Linked DNA regions of Homo sapiens: all the other regions are linked to region 2. The links are contacts of gene promoters, found by promoter capture Hi-C in blood cells and fetal thymus (Javierre and others, 2016). All regions are on one chromosome and are shown on one strand. Each heading gives the region's core, a stretch centred on a gene start or on the middle of the fragment in contact. The rest is flanking DNA. Distances are from core to core; before and after follow the strand shown.

Region 1 (4,988 bases), core at 169-2,668, 610 kb before region 2:
TCTTGGGAGCAAATGCAAAGAGAAGACCTAAAACTGAGGGTAGGCTGGGTGCGGTGGCTCACTCTTGTAATTCCAGCACTTTGGGAGGCCGAGATCAGGAGTTCGAGACCAGCCTAGCCAACATGGTGAAACCCCGTCTCCACTAAAAATACAAAACATTAGCCAGACGTGGTGGCACGTGCCTGTAATCCCAGCTACTCAGGAGGCTGAGGCAGGAGAATTGCTTGAACCCAGGAGGCAGAGGTTGCAGTGAGCCGAGATCACGCCACTGTACTCCAGCCTGGGTGACAGAGCGAGACTCCATCTCAAAAAGAAAAAAAAAAAAAAAAACTGAGAGTGGATCGGACATTGGGAAAAAACCTTCTAGCAAGTCAGGCCCCACTCTAAACACTTAGTGATATTAGAGGAATGTCAAGCAATCTGAGAAAGAAAAATGGGCAAAAGATTTGAATAGGCTGGGTGTGGTGGCTCACACCTGCCATCCCAGCACTTTGGGAGGCTGGAGGATCACTTGAGACCAAGAGGTCAAGATCCTGTCTCAAAAAAGAAAAAAAAAAAAAAGATTTGACTAATACATTACATCAAAGAAGATACATGTATGGTAAATAAGCACATGAGGAGATGCTCGATGTTGTTAGTTAAGCAAAGTGATGCTAGAGAACTGTGGGGCCCTGAGGGCAACAGAGCAACACCAAACCCCAAAGCCAGCTTAACTCCTGGCTAGACTGACCAGCTCCCTACCTGAAGGGCCTGGCAAAAGCAGCAGCATTAACCAGGCACAGGGGCTCACACCTGTTGTTTTTTGGTGTTTTTTTTTTTTTTGACAGTCCTGCTCTGTCGCCCAGGCTGGAGTACAGTGGCGCAATCTCAGCTTACTGCAACCTCCGCCTCCCAGGTTCAAGCGATTCTCCTGCCTCAGCCACCCAAGTAGCTGGGATTACAGCCGCCCGCCACCATGCCCAGCTAATTTTTGTATTTTCAGCAGAGATGGGGTTTCACCATGTGATGGCCCCATCTCTATGCCATGCAGCTGTGTTTTGGGAGGCTGAGGTAGAAGGACCACCTGAGGCCAGGAGTTCAAGACCAGCCTGGGCAACATAGCAAGACCCTGTCTCTACAAAATATAAATAAATTAGCCAGGCACGTGGAATATGCCTGTAGTTCCAGCTACTCAGGAGGCTGAGGCAGCAGATTACTTGAGCTCAGGAGTTCAAGGCTGCAGTGAGCTGTGATTGTACCACTGCACTTCAGCCTGGGCAACAGAGCAAAACACTGCTTAAAAAAAAAATAGAAGAAGTAAGCCCATTTTCAGGTGTAAATGCTATTTACCTCAGTCTCTACTATCCTATACAAGATCCCAGCTTTCAATCAAAAAAATACGAGACACACAAAGAAGCAAGAAAAGCAACACACCGTCAAGGGATAAAGCAATCAACAAAATCAGACTGAGATATGACCCAGATGTTGGAACTTTTAGGGAATTTTAATAATTATGATTAATATGTTAAAGGCAATGGGAGAAAAGGTGAGTAGCATGTACCCACAGTTGGGGAATTTCATTAAAGAGATGGAAACTATAGGAAAGAATAAATAAAATGCTAGAAATGAAAGTCACAGTAAAAGAGAATGATGTTGACAGGCTCATCAAAAGACTCAGCATAGCTGGGGAAGTAATCAGTGAACCTAGGCCACGAGCAGTGGCTTATGCCTGTAATCCCAGCACTTTAGGAGGCTGAGGTAGGAGGATTGCTACAGGCCGGGAGCTTGAGACCAGCCTGGGCAACATCGTGAGACCCTGTATCTATACAAAACAATTTTTAAAAATTAGCCGGGCATGGTGGTGCATGTCTGTAGTCCTGGCTACTTGGGAGGCCAAGGCCATAGGATCATTGGGGCCCAAGAGTTTGAGACCACAGAGAGCTATGATTGTGCCCCTGCATTCCAGCTTAGGTGACAGAGTGAGACCCTGTCTCTAAGGAAAAAAAAGAAGAAAAAAATAGGGGAGGGAAAAAAACACAGAAACAGAACAGAGCATCCTAAAGTTAGGAGACAATATAAAACAGTCTTAAAAAATATATGTAATTAGAATCCCAGAAGAAGAAAAGGATCAGATGGATGGAAGAAATATTTAAATTTAAAACGCCAGGCCAGGAGCAGTGGCTCATGCCTGTAATCCTAGCACTGTAGGAGGCTGAGATGTGAGGGTCGCTTGAGGCCAGGACATTGAGACCAGCCTGGTCAACATAGCGAGACCCCATCTCTATATTAATAAAAGTAAAAAATTATAAAACGCCATAAATTTTCCAAAATTAATGAAAGACATCAAATAACAGATCCAAGAAGCTCATGGACATAAATGTAAAACCTAAAACTACAAAACTTCTAGAAGAAAATACAGAAGAAAACCCTTGTGACCTTGGGTTTCTTTGCTACAATACCAAAAGCACAAAGAAAAAAATTGGTGGCCAGGTGCAGTGGCTCCTGCCTGTAATTCCAACACTTTGGGAGGCCGAGGTGGCTGGATCACTTGAGGTCAGGAGTTTGAGACCAGCCTGGCCAATATGGTGAAACCTCGTCTCTATTAAAAATACTAAAATTAGCCAGGCATGGTGGCGCATGCCTGTAATCTCAGCTGCTCCTGTGGCTGAGGCACGAGAATCGCTTGAACCCAGGAGTCAGAGGCTGCAATGAGCCAAGATCGCACCACTGTGCAACAGAGTGAGACTCTGTCTCAAAAAAAAAAAAAAAAGAAAATTTTCCAGAAAGTAAAAAGACAACCTGCAGAATAGGGGAAGACATTTCCAAATCATATATCTGATACGGGGTACTATCCAGAATATATAAAGAACTCCTATAACTCAGCAACAAAGAAACCAAGCAACCCAATTTAAAAATAGTTAAGGACAGCCAGGCACAGTGGCTCACGCCTGTAATCCCAGCACTTTGGGAGGCTGAGGGGGGCAGATCATGAGGTCAGGAGATCAAGACCATCCTGGCTAAGACGGTGAAACCCTGTGTCTACTAAAAATATTTTAAAAATTAGCCGGGCATGGTGGCGGGCACCTGTAGTCCCAGCTACTCAGGAGACTGAGGCAGGAGAATCAGGAGAATGGCGTGAACCCGGGAGGCAGAGCTTGCAGTGAGCAGAGATTGCACCACTGCACTCCAGCCTGGGTGACAGAGTGAGACTCCGTCTCAAAAAAATAAATAAATAAAATAAAAATAGGTAAGGCCCAGGTGTGGTGGCTCATGCCTGTAATTCCAACACTTTGGGAGGCCAAGGCCAGTGGATCACCTGAGGTCAGGAGTTCAAGACCAGCCTGACCAACATGGTGAAAACTCATCTCTACTAAAACTACAAAAATTATCTGGGCATGGTGGCGGGCGCCTGCAGTCCCAGCTACTCAGGAGGCTGAGGCAGGAGAATCACTTGAACCCAGGAGGCCGAGGTTGCAGTGAGCTGAGATCACACCACTGCACTCCAGCCTGAGCGACAGAACAAGACTGTCTCAAAATAAAATAAAATAAAATAAAATAAAATAAAATAAAATAAAATACATTAATTAAATTAAATAAAAACATCGCTATGATAATGCAGTGAATACCTGGGAATGTGGCTTTAGCTGGAAATAGGGTCTTTGCAGATGTAATCAAGTTAAAATGAGGTCCTTAGGGTGGGCCATAATCCAGTTTGACTGATGTCTTTATAAGAAGAAGAGAGGCCCATAGGAAGAAGACGGCCTTGTGACAAGAGACAGAGACTGAAGTGAGGCAGCTGCAGGCCAAGGAACGCGAAGCGTTGATGGCCACCACCAGAGGCTAAGAGGCCATGAAAGACCCACCTAGCGTCTCAGAGGGAGCACGGCCCTGTTGACACCCTGATTTCAGACTCCAGTCCCCAGAACTATGAAAGAATAAGTTTCTTTTTTTTTCATTTTTTTTTTTTGAGATGGAGCCTGTGTTGCCCAGGCTGGAGTGCAGCGGCACGATCTCAGCTCACTGCAACCTCTGCCTCCCAGGTTCAAGCAATTCTCCTGCCTCAGTCTTCCAAGTAGCTGGGACTACAGGTGCCCACCACCATGCACGGCTAATTTTCGTATCTTTAGTAGAGACGGGGTTTCACCATGGTGGCCAGGTTGGTCTCAAACTCCTGACCTCAAGTGATCTGCCCACCTCAGCTTCCCAAAATGCTGGGATTACAGGCATGAGGCACCGACCCCGGCCAGTGAAAGAATAATTTTCTGTTGTTTTAAGCCACCCAGTTTGTGGCATGTTGTTGGTGACTGGAATGCCAGCATTCCTGCCCATAAACCTAGAATGACTGTGGAGAGACTGCATTCGCATAAGGATATTTTCATTGTCCAGGGAGCGTGGAGCTCCTCCCGGGCCAGCAGAGGTGCTGCCATCGGTCTGTGGAAGTGGACTCAGCTTCCTGCCCCCCAGCTGGCCTGCTCTCCAGACGCCTGAGGGACTGGGCCCCGGAATGCACTGTTTCTCCAAGCCACAGACCCTCTGCTGTGACAGTCACCATCCTTCTAGGTACTTCCAAACCCCTGCAGAGGCTTTGAAAATGCTCCTTCATGGCTGGGCGCGGTGGCTCACACCTGTAATCCCAGCACTTTGGGAGGCCAAGGCAGGCAGATCACTTGAGGTCAGGAGTTCGAGACCAGCCTGGTCAACATGGTGAAACCCCGTCTCTACTAAAAATATAAAAATTAGCAGGGCGTGGTGGTAGGTGCCTGTAATCCCAGCTGCTTGGGAGGCTGAGGCAGGAGAATTGCCTGAACCCGGGAGGGGGAGGTTGCAGTGAGCCGAGATCAAGCTACTGCTTCTGCCTCAAGGTAGGGACCCCACAGGAGTTGGGGAGCTGTTCTCCAGGTGGAAGAGGCAGGATAAAGGCCGAGGGGAGCCCGGGTATTTCAAGCCACCCCGCTCTGGGGAATTTCCTGGTGACACATGCACAGCTCATGCACTCTGAGCCTGACAGC
Region 2 (4,616 bases), core at 1,873-4,372:
GGCACATGCTGTTCCTTCCACCTGAAAGCCTTCCTCTCCACCTAGTCTCACTTCTAGTCATCCCTCCCGATTGAGATCAGTCAATCTGACCCGCCTCGGCCTCCCAAAGTGCTAGGATTACAGGTGTGAGCCACCATGTCCGGCCATGCCTGCCTTGTTCTTAGCTGTATCCCAGTCTGGTCCCGTCTGTCTGCTGCCTCTGGCCTCAGAACCACAGCCCCCTAAGATCCCTCCTTACCCTTAGACACATTCCTTTCCAGATCTTTTGAGTCCTGCAGGTGGTAGCAGAGTCTTTTTCATCTTTCTGAACCTGTCCCCACATTTCTAAACTGGGGGAGAAAGTATTGATTTCTTAGGATTGTTGGAAGAAATGTAGAGAGATTAGATAAAAGGCCCCATAGTAGGTGCTGGACTCATAGTGAGTGCTTAGTTCATTGGGCTGTCAATGCTTAGGACAGTGGCTGGGGTCTCTAGCACAGTCATTTCCCTTGTTTTTCTCAGTCTTGTGGTATTTGACTCCTCCCAGAAGCACTTTCAGAAGACATGCATCTGAGATTTAGAACCACTCTTTAAATAACATTAGTAAGAGGTTCCATTTATTAGGCCAGACCTTTAATTGCTTTGCAAGCATCGTTTAATTCTCATAGCATTCCTGCTAGGTAGCAACTATCATTATTACCCATCCCCTTAGAAGACAGGAAATAGAGGCTCAGAAGTCACTCACCTAAGGTTAGCTGTTTTTATCCATTCTTTCACCCAGTCAGCAATTATTGAGAGCCTACTATGTGCCAGATCTGTACTCAGCAGTTGGGGTTATGAGTGAGAATAAAGGGATGTGACTAGTCAGGGAGGTGTGGGAAGGTTTATGGAAGGAAGGGACAACAGAGCTGTAGTCTGAAGGACTGGAGGAGTTGTTTCCAGGGGCTGAGCATTTGGCTGAACTCTTCTGCCCATCTAAAGAGGGTTGACTTAGAATCTTCATCAACTACCAAAACTCCAGGGCTGCACGTTTCTGCAGTGCCACTTAGGCTCTGATGGCATCTCCAGGGACAGAGAACTCACTACCACCAGAACCTGTGACAAAAAGGTAGATTCCTGAGAAAGGCCAGATGGTCCTGACTTTTTTTTTCTTTCTTTTTTTTTTTGAGACGGAGTTTTGCTCTTGTTGCCCAGGCTGGAGTGCAATTGCGCCATCTCGGCTTACCGCAGTCTCCGCCTCCTGGGTTCAAACGATTCTCCTGCCCCAGCCTCCTGAGTAGCTGGGATTACTGGCATGCGCCACCACGCCTGGCTAATTTTGTATTTTTAGTAGAGACGGGTTTTCTCCATATTGGTCAGGCTGGTCTCGAACTCCTGACTTCAGGTGATCCGCCCGCCTCAGTCTCCCAAAGTGTGGGGATTACAGGCATGAACCACGGCGCCCAGCAAGGTCCTAAAGTATTTTAGAACCCACAGCTGAGGGAATGGCAGGCCGTCCTCTCTTAGTCACAGGGTTTAGCTCCTGAAACACTGCTACCTAGCAGAGGGGATCTAGTTGTCCCTCGGTGGAAGGTATTAAGGAAGATGCCACTGAAGAAACATTTGAACAGGATCTTGAAAGATGAATAGGAGTTTGGGAGTGGGTCAGGTGAAGTCAGCCGCGTTCCAGCTTGAAGGAGCCAAGGATTAAGGTTCTGGTGTGTGACAGAATGGAGCTGGAATCCCCATCACTTCTGGTGGACTTCATCAGTGCTGGAAAGGGACAATATTGTTGCTATCTCATAGAGCAGGTATGAGGTTTAGACGGCAGAGCGTTAATGTAAGTCTCCCAGATTACGTATGAAATACAGTTTCACCAGGGTTGGTAAGGTCCAGTTGCCCCCAAGTGCAGAGAAGCGTTGCAACTTTCGTAGCAGGTGAGGGACGGGGTATGGTGCGAAATGTGGGCAAGGGTCAGGCCAAGCAGGGATGCGAATGCCAGGACGAGGACTTAAAATTAGGCAAAAAAAAAATAAAAGGGCTAAGGGATTGGTGGGGCGGGTGGGGCAGGAGAGGGCGAATGAGCGGCCACCGAGGAAGCTGCAGCATAATCCGGCAGAGCAGAAGTGGGCAAAGCACCAACGTTCTCGTTCTTTGTCTTCAAGTGGGCCAGGTAGGCCTTAGACCCTTGGCGGCAGCAGCGAAATCCTTTCCCGATGGGGTCGCCGAAGACGGACACCCCGGCGGGCCTAGTGACCGGTGGCCGCGCGCCACCTGGTGGCCGCAGCGGGTGGATTCGGCCGGGAGCCGCTGCAAAATTCGGGATTTTGCTTCCGGAAAGCTTCGGGAAACTGAGGTGGGAGGGGCAGGGGTTTGCGATCTTCCAACTTGATCCTGTCCTTATTCCAACCCCCTTTTACAGATAGGGAAACTGAGGAAAGGGGAAGGCAAACAAGGCTGGGCAAGGGATCCCTCTTAAACGGAAGGTTTCAAGACACCTGGGGTCAAGAGCCTAGGGCTTTCTTTAATAGCCCCAATGGCCCGGAGCTTAGTTTGCCCATCTGTTCTATGGGCAGGGGGAAAATGAAAGGGGAGGAGGGGAAACTTTAGTCTTTGCCGCCCACCCGGAGGTAAAAAGTCTTTAAAGACTACCCCGGAAAGAAGAGTTTTATATATTCCATTTGCATACGAACGCAGTCACCTCGAGTTAAACTCCGGTCCTTTAATCTCCGGTCCAATTTGTCCCGCAGCGGCAGGGAGAGGCCCACGTGAGTACCTTCAAGCCCCGCCTCCAGGGCCCCGCCCACAGGGCTGGGCTTCGTTGCACGTGCTCACCCGGCTGCCTCGCGATCCACCTCCTCGCAAAGACTCATTGTTGGGGTGGGGGGTTACGAGGACTCTTAGGGAACTTTGATCAGGTAGAAATCACAATCAAGACAAGGCCCGGAAGTATCCGCTTACTACATAGACATCAAACGCTTTGTCATGGTTCTTGATATTGACAGACTTTAGCTTTCCCTTCTCAGGACTTCTTATCCCTCCTTCCACCCCTTCAGTTGGTGCGGTCGGCGTGGCCGGCCTCGCTGAGCGGACTCCAACTTCCAGCGTGCCCCGCAGGGCCTTGCGCGGCAGCGGCGTGTGACGTCAGGGGAGGGAGCTGGCCAGTGCTGAGGGGGCGCGGCGCGGAGGGGCGCGGAGCGGCGCGGAGCCGGGCGGCTCGGGGCCCAGAGAGAGCCGCGGCCGGGAGCTCGCGGGCTCCTGACAACCTCCTCCCCTCGGCGGACGACGACCACGGCGACTAGGGCGCCGGTCATGGCGGAGCAACAAACCCGGCGCGGACCCTAGGCACCACCGCATGGAGCGGGACGAACCGCCGCCTAGCGGAGGGGGAGGCGGCGGGGGCTCGGCGGGGTTCCTGGAGCCTCCCGCCGCGCTCCCTCCGCCGCCGCGCAACGGTGGGTGAGGGGCCTGCGACGCCCGGGCCAGGCAGGAACCGGCTTCCTGAGCCTCCGCCAGGGATCCCCCTCCTCTCTGCCGACCCTCGCCCTGGGAAGCCGCAGCGGCCCCGCGGCCCCTTAGGGTGGCCCTTCACCCCGTTCCCCGTTGGCGCGGACCCTCCCTCTCCTCCCCGGTCTCGCTCAGGGTGGATCCTCCTCCTTCGTCCCTGTTCCCTTCTGCGCGGACCCTCCCCCTGCCCGGGTCCCTGGGCACCGAGCTTCATTTCCCCCTCCCCCCGTCCCCTCTGCACAGGCTTCCCCTCCCCCCGTCCCCTCAGCACCAATCCTCCCTCCTCCCCCCGGGTCCCCTCCCCCTGTCTTCCCAGCACCGAACCTTCCCCTCCCCCCGGGCTCCTCAGGTTGGAAGTCCCCACCGCGGTCCGTCAGTGGGGGCATCCCCTCACTCGGGTTCCCTTAACGCAGAGCCTCTCTTTTCCCCTACAGGGGTTCCTCCTCCCACCGAGGACGCTCCCTTCTTGCCCTGTTGACCCGACTCCACAGCACCCTTGTACCGCTCAGCTTTCTAGAGCGTTTTCCTCTTCTGCAGCCTCGAGCGTTCTTCCTTGAATACTACGAGCCCCCCACCTCTGCCGAACCCCCGTTCGCTAGACATCCCCCAGTCGTTTCCTTTTTCGGACCCCTTCGCGCCTCCTGCTTCCCCTGCGCCTCACCTTCCTCAACGCCCCGCGCGCTCTGGCCGGTCTCCGCCCCTGCTCAGCTCCCCTCTCCGCCAGGCAACGGCTTTCCCTGGCCGAGGGCTCCAGCCCGCCCCGGGGCCCCGGACACCTGCCTCCTCCCGGCTTCTGCCCGGCAGGTCCCGGTCCCCACCTCTTAGTCTCAGTTCTCCTCTTTCTTGTCCCGATCCGGGACCTTGGGAGCTGAGAATCCCTCACCTGGCCCGGCCCTTCCTACCGCTCGTCCCTCGCCCCCTCGCCCGGGCCGGGTCCTCAGGTTCCTCGGGGCTTCCTCGCCCTCCTCCCCTTCGCTCCCTCCCCCTGCGGGGTGTTTTATTTGTATCTGTTTGATATTTTCCTCCTCGGTGTTTGCCGCGGAATGTTTTTATTGGTAACGTGTTAGGAGCTTTTGTGAGGTCGTAAAAGGTGAACTTTTGAACTTGGAAAGCGCCCTGGAGCAATTAGCGCAGGCGATCGCCCCGGGAGG
Region 3 (4,699 bases), core at 1,814-4,313, 600 kb before region 2:
TTGGGTATGTCATTGAACACCATGATTCTCTGGAAATGTTTAGCAATTTGAGGCTAAGGAAACAGCGTTACATAACAGGCAGTTATGAGTAAAGAAAATGCTTCATTCTAAGCATATAAAAAGAGCTATCCTTAAAGGAATCATTGGATTGGCTGTAGGCTAACAATTCTCATTCTTTTAAAGGGGCTTCCCCATTCATGCTTATTACCCTTGTGAGCTATGAAGCCAAGTGTTTAGGAGTTAACCACTTTCACAGTGGATCATACATTTTCATGAGTTTCAGTGAGATGGGGAGCTTGCTAGAAATGCAGATTCCTGGCATCTTCCCCAGAAATTGATTCAATGGGTATGGGGTGGGATCATGAGTCTGTGGTTTTATGAACCTCCCCAGGTGGGCGATGAGGGTAGGCGGGCCACTGGTTCATTCTTCATCAAGTGCAAGCTCTCCTGGTGCTTCTCAAACTCTCTTGGAGAGGCTGGGCATGGCAGTTCACACCTGTAATCCCAGTACTTTGGGAAGCTGAGACAGGAGGATCGCTTGAGCCTGGGAGTTCAAGACCAGAGAGGGCAACATAGCAAGCAAGACCCCATCTCTGAAAAACTTTTTTGAAATTAGCCAGGTGTTGTGGCATGCACCTGTGGTCCCAGCTACTCAGGAGGCTGAGGCAGGAAGATCACTTGAGCCCAGGAGTTTGAGACCACAGTGAGCTAGGATCATGCCACTGCACTCCAGCCTGGGTGACAGGGTGACACCCTGTCTCAAAAACAAAAACTCTCTGGAAAATAAAAGTCACTGGGAGGACTTGTTCAAAGATTCCTGGTTCCCTCCCCTATGGACTCTTATATACCAACAAGAATACCAGGTGATTCTCAACAGGGAAGTTTGGGAAACAGTTTATATAGTATAACTCCCTAGAGCACCAAATCCTGGGCCCCATCCCCAAAGATGATCTAGTTGGTCAGGGTGGGTCACAGCATATATTTCGACCAGCAATACGCTGAATTCCTAAACAGCTAACAGAAATAAGATTACCATGGTTTTCACATTCATTGTTTACAACAGGTCCAAGGACTTGGAACTGAGAGCTGTTTCCGCTTTAGCATAAAATGTGGACGGTGTTCTGGATCTCCACAATAGCCTATATGGTTCTTTGGTCATATATATTTTTTCTTTTTTTAGAGACAAGATCTCGCCCTGTAACCCAGACTGGAATGCAGTGGCCCAATCTGCAGCCTGGAACTCCTGGGCTCAAGCCATCCTCCCACCTCAGCCTCCCAAGTAGCTGGGACTACAGGGATGTGCCACCATGCCTGGCTTATTTAAATTTTTTTTTTTTTTTTTTTTGTACAGACCAGGTCTCATTGTTTCCCAGGCTGGCCTCAAATTCCTGAGCTCAAGTGATCCTCCCGCCTTCGTTTCCCAAAGTGCTGGGATTACAGGCATGAGCTAAAACACTTTCTCTGGGCATGGGTCTTTTTTTTTTTTTTTTTTTTTTTTAAATCTATGGGCTATATTTTACTACCCTAAGTGGATGGAAAGGATTCTTCTGGAATGAAATAAGTGAAGCAAAAGCTCTTCGCTGAATACTTCAATCCTTAGGTGGAGGACACATTTATGGCCAAGAGGAGCTTCAGCCCTGGTTTCTCTCTACAGGATCACCACCCATTTTGCAGCAGTATGGCAGGCAGGCTCGTGAAGCTAGTGTCAGTAGCTCAGCATCCTGTGAGGAAAAGCTACGGAGCCCTGTACTTGCGGAAAGGGTTGAGTGGGTACAAGCGTAACAGCAGTCCAAGCGACACAGGTAAATTCCAAGTTGGCAAGAAAAGCTGAATGCTATTTTTGGTTCTAGGCGTCATACCACTCGTTTTAATATTGAAGAGTGGGCCGGGTGCGGTGGCTTACACCTGTAATCTCAGCACTTTGGGAGGCCGAGGCAGGTGGATCACCTGAGGTCAGGGGTTCGAGACCAGCCTGACCAATATGGCGAAACCCCGTCTCTACTAAAAATACAAAATCAGCTGGGCGTGGTGGCGCATGCCTGTATTCCAGCTACTCAGGAGGCTGAGGCAGAACTGCTTGAACCTGGGAAGCGAAGGTTGCAGTGAGCCAAAATCGAGCCATTGCACTCCAGCCTGGGTAACAAGAGCAAAACTCTGCCTCAAAAAAAAAAAAAAAAATACTGAACAGAGCAAATGGAAATGGGCCGTAAGCAAGTTTTTAACTATTTCCTTCTAAATGAAGTGCAATCAATATAAGAAAAGCGCCTTCTCACCAGCAAGGGAAGCCTGAAGAATGAGTTAGTACTCCTTGTCAAAAGTAACTTCCCTTGGCTGGAAAGATTAATAAAGGCCTAAATGAATATTGTGATTAGATGGCAACACTTTTGCTTTCAAAATGAAAAATGATAAATAGCTACCAAATATAGGCATTAGGCAGAAACTGTTAAATCCATAGATGAAGGTCTGGGTGCAGTGGCTCACGCCTGTAATCCCAGCACTTTGGGAGGTTGAGGCGGGCAGATCGCTTGAGCTCAGGAGACTGGGCAACATGGCAAAACCCTGCCTCTACAAACAATACAAATATTAGTCAGGTGTGGTAGCGTATGCCTGTTGTCCCAGCTACTGGGAAGGCTGAGGCTGGAGGATCTTTGAGAACAGGAGGCAGAGTTTGCAGTGACCCTAGATCCTGCCTCTGCACTCCAGCCTGGGCGACAGAGCCAGGCCCTGTCTCAAAAAAAAAAAAAAAAAAACCCTTAGATGTTCACCATTGTGTTAGTTACTGCCAGGTCATTCTAGTTCCTTCTTGTGCCATACTTAGCAAACACCCTTATTGTTCAGATAAAAAAGATGTGTGTGAATTCACGGAGAACATCAGAACATTCGGAAGTCAAATACGTTTTCAGAAATGCTTCTGAATATAAAATAGATGACAGAAACATAAAACCCTGTGAATCAAACTGCTCTCCCCTTTTAATCAGTTTTATAGAATATTTTACAGTACTAATCACATTAGGAGACAGGAGGGGTTTCCTGTACATATACAAGATTGTGCAAGCTCATTAATTGAGACTTATAGAAAGGTTTTATCTGTTTCAAAAGAGGCAGTACAGCTTTTTAATCCAGGTGAAGCACAAGAAGAATCCAGTAGACAGGAGAGTATTAATTTGACAGAGGTGAATTCCCCTAGTGCATGGCCGCTACCCACACTGTCTGCCATTATCCAAGTGGAGACGTCATCTCTCTTGAATTGAACCCTTGCTGAGCTCAGGCCTGTGGGATGCGGCAGCTCCAGGGTCACTCCATAGCTCAACCACAACTTAACACGGAAGCAAACTATATTTTCATTTATCCAAGTGTTCTCAAGAGTAATAAAGCTATTCCTTGTCCTACTACTTTCTAACCTACATTCTAAAATATATTAAGTAATTTTTAACCTGGCAAAGTTCTCAAGCATTTTGGCATTTAAAGTAATCGCAAATACCTCATCACTGTTAATCCACTTACTAAAAATCCTTTGGGCTTCAAGATAGTTTCAGATTTACTTCCCTTAAAATTAAAGCAATTGCGTACAAAATAAACTCACTAGACTTAAATATTTAAAAAGAGAGACAACAGCCTTTTCTTTAAAGAAACAAAGCAGGAAGAGATGGGAGAGAAAAATCTAGGAAGCACCAATTGAGGAAGTGAACCCCACTACACTTCTATCACTTTTATGCAATCCAGTAATAATTCTGAGTGTATTCCTACTTTCCCTCTTCACACCCAATCACATAGGAGAAAAACAATTTTAAAACACCTAGTTGACCTTACTCGGTCCAAAGTGGAAATTTCCATGGCAAACAATAGGAAAAAGAGTGCCCGGGTTCAGCACACCAGTCAGCTACAGATTCTTACGGCAAGAACACAGCCCCCGTATTGGGGCTGAGATTGTTCTCTTGCTCACGCACCTCAGGGACACATTTGTAAAGCCCACTTTAAACAAAGGCTTCCAGGACATAGGAATAGAAAAACCATGCAGCACATTTGCAATCCCTTAGAAAACCTGAGCCTCCTACTACAGCGATTTAACTATCTGTATCAGAAGGCCTTCATAAGCAGGTTTTTATAAAGAAAAAGCAGAAGAAAGCAATTACTGTGGCTGAGATTTTACCTAAAATGGAGAAAGAAAGCAAAATGTTTGACACGTTTAAATATATATACATATAATTTTGTGGTTGGGCACGGTGGCTCACGCCTATAATCCCAGCACTTTGGGAAGCCGAGGTAGGCGGATCACTTGAGGCCAGGAGTTCGAGACCAGCCTGGCCAACATGGCGAAACCCTGTCTCTACAAAAAATACAAAAATTAGCTGGGTGTGGTGGCATACACTTGTAATCTGAGCAACCAGGGAGGCTGAGCCATGAGAATCACTAGAGACTGGGAGATGGTGGTTACAGTGAGCCGAGATCACAGCACTGCACTCCAGACTGGGTGACAGAGCAAGACTATGTCTCAAAAAAAATTAAAATATAATTTTGTAAGTAAAGACAATCTTCAACTTGTATTTCTATTACTTCTAAAAGCAGAATATTAATACAAAATGCAAACCTGATTTTTCTTTTCCTCAGAGAAGTTAATCCTACAAGATTTCAGGGGACCTGAGCCAACTCTCTCTCCATTTAACATCCACTTTATAAATTCTATGTAGTAACTAGTGGC

The links. The method cuts DNA at HindIII sites, captures the fragments that hold promoters and counts their contacts. A CHiCAGO score of 5 or more calls a contact.
Region 1: a fragment that was not itself captured here is called in contact with the fragment with the promoter of NR6A1 in region 2 in 9 of 17 cell types (total CD4 T cells, naive CD8 T cells, endothelial precursors and 6 more); the score reaches 7.9 in total CD4 T cells.
Region 3: a contact is called between a fragment that was not itself captured here and the fragment with the promoter of NR6A1 in region 2, in 16 of 17 cell types (naive CD4 T cells, total CD4 T cells, total CD8 T cells and 13 more). The highest score is 16.8, in naive CD4 T cells.

What each region holds. Positions count from the first base shown.
Region 1 is chr9:125,380,595-125,385,582 of GRCh38, reverse strand. No RefSeq gene overlaps it. Among named protein-coding and RNA genes, the nearest start is that of GAPVD1, 120 kb to the right of the region's middle. The HindIII fragment of the contact is 8,564 bases long and covers 1-4,988 here.
Region 2 is chr9:124,769,817-124,774,432 of GRCh38, reverse strand. NR6A1 (nuclear receptor subfamily 6 group A member 1) reads left to right here and starts at 3,122. Exons shown (of 10, transcript NM_033334.4): 1 at 3,122-3,413. The coding sequence starts at 3,314. LOC124900274 (a long non-coding RNA gene) reads left to right here and starts at 3,953. Exons shown (of 2, transcript XR_007061773.1): 1 at 3,953-4,616. LOC107987126 (a long non-coding RNA gene) reads right to left here and starts at 3,076. Exons shown (of 2, transcript XR_001746926.3): 1 at 2,660-3,076; 2 at 596-1,731. RefSeq lists enhancers at 2,723-2,982, 2,773-3,340 and silencers at 3,053-3,632, 4,173-4,422. The HindIII fragment of the contact is 3,513 bases long and covers 2,302-4,616 here.
Region 3 is chr9:125,365,452-125,370,150 of GRCh38, reverse strand. GAPVD1 (GTPase activating protein and VPS9 domains 1) reads right to left here. Exons shown (of 28, transcript NM_001282680.3): 28 at 2,944-4,699. Among named protein-coding and RNA genes, the nearest start is that of GAPVD1, 110 kb to the right of the region's middle. The HindIII fragment of the contact is 6,213 bases long and covers 1-4,699 here.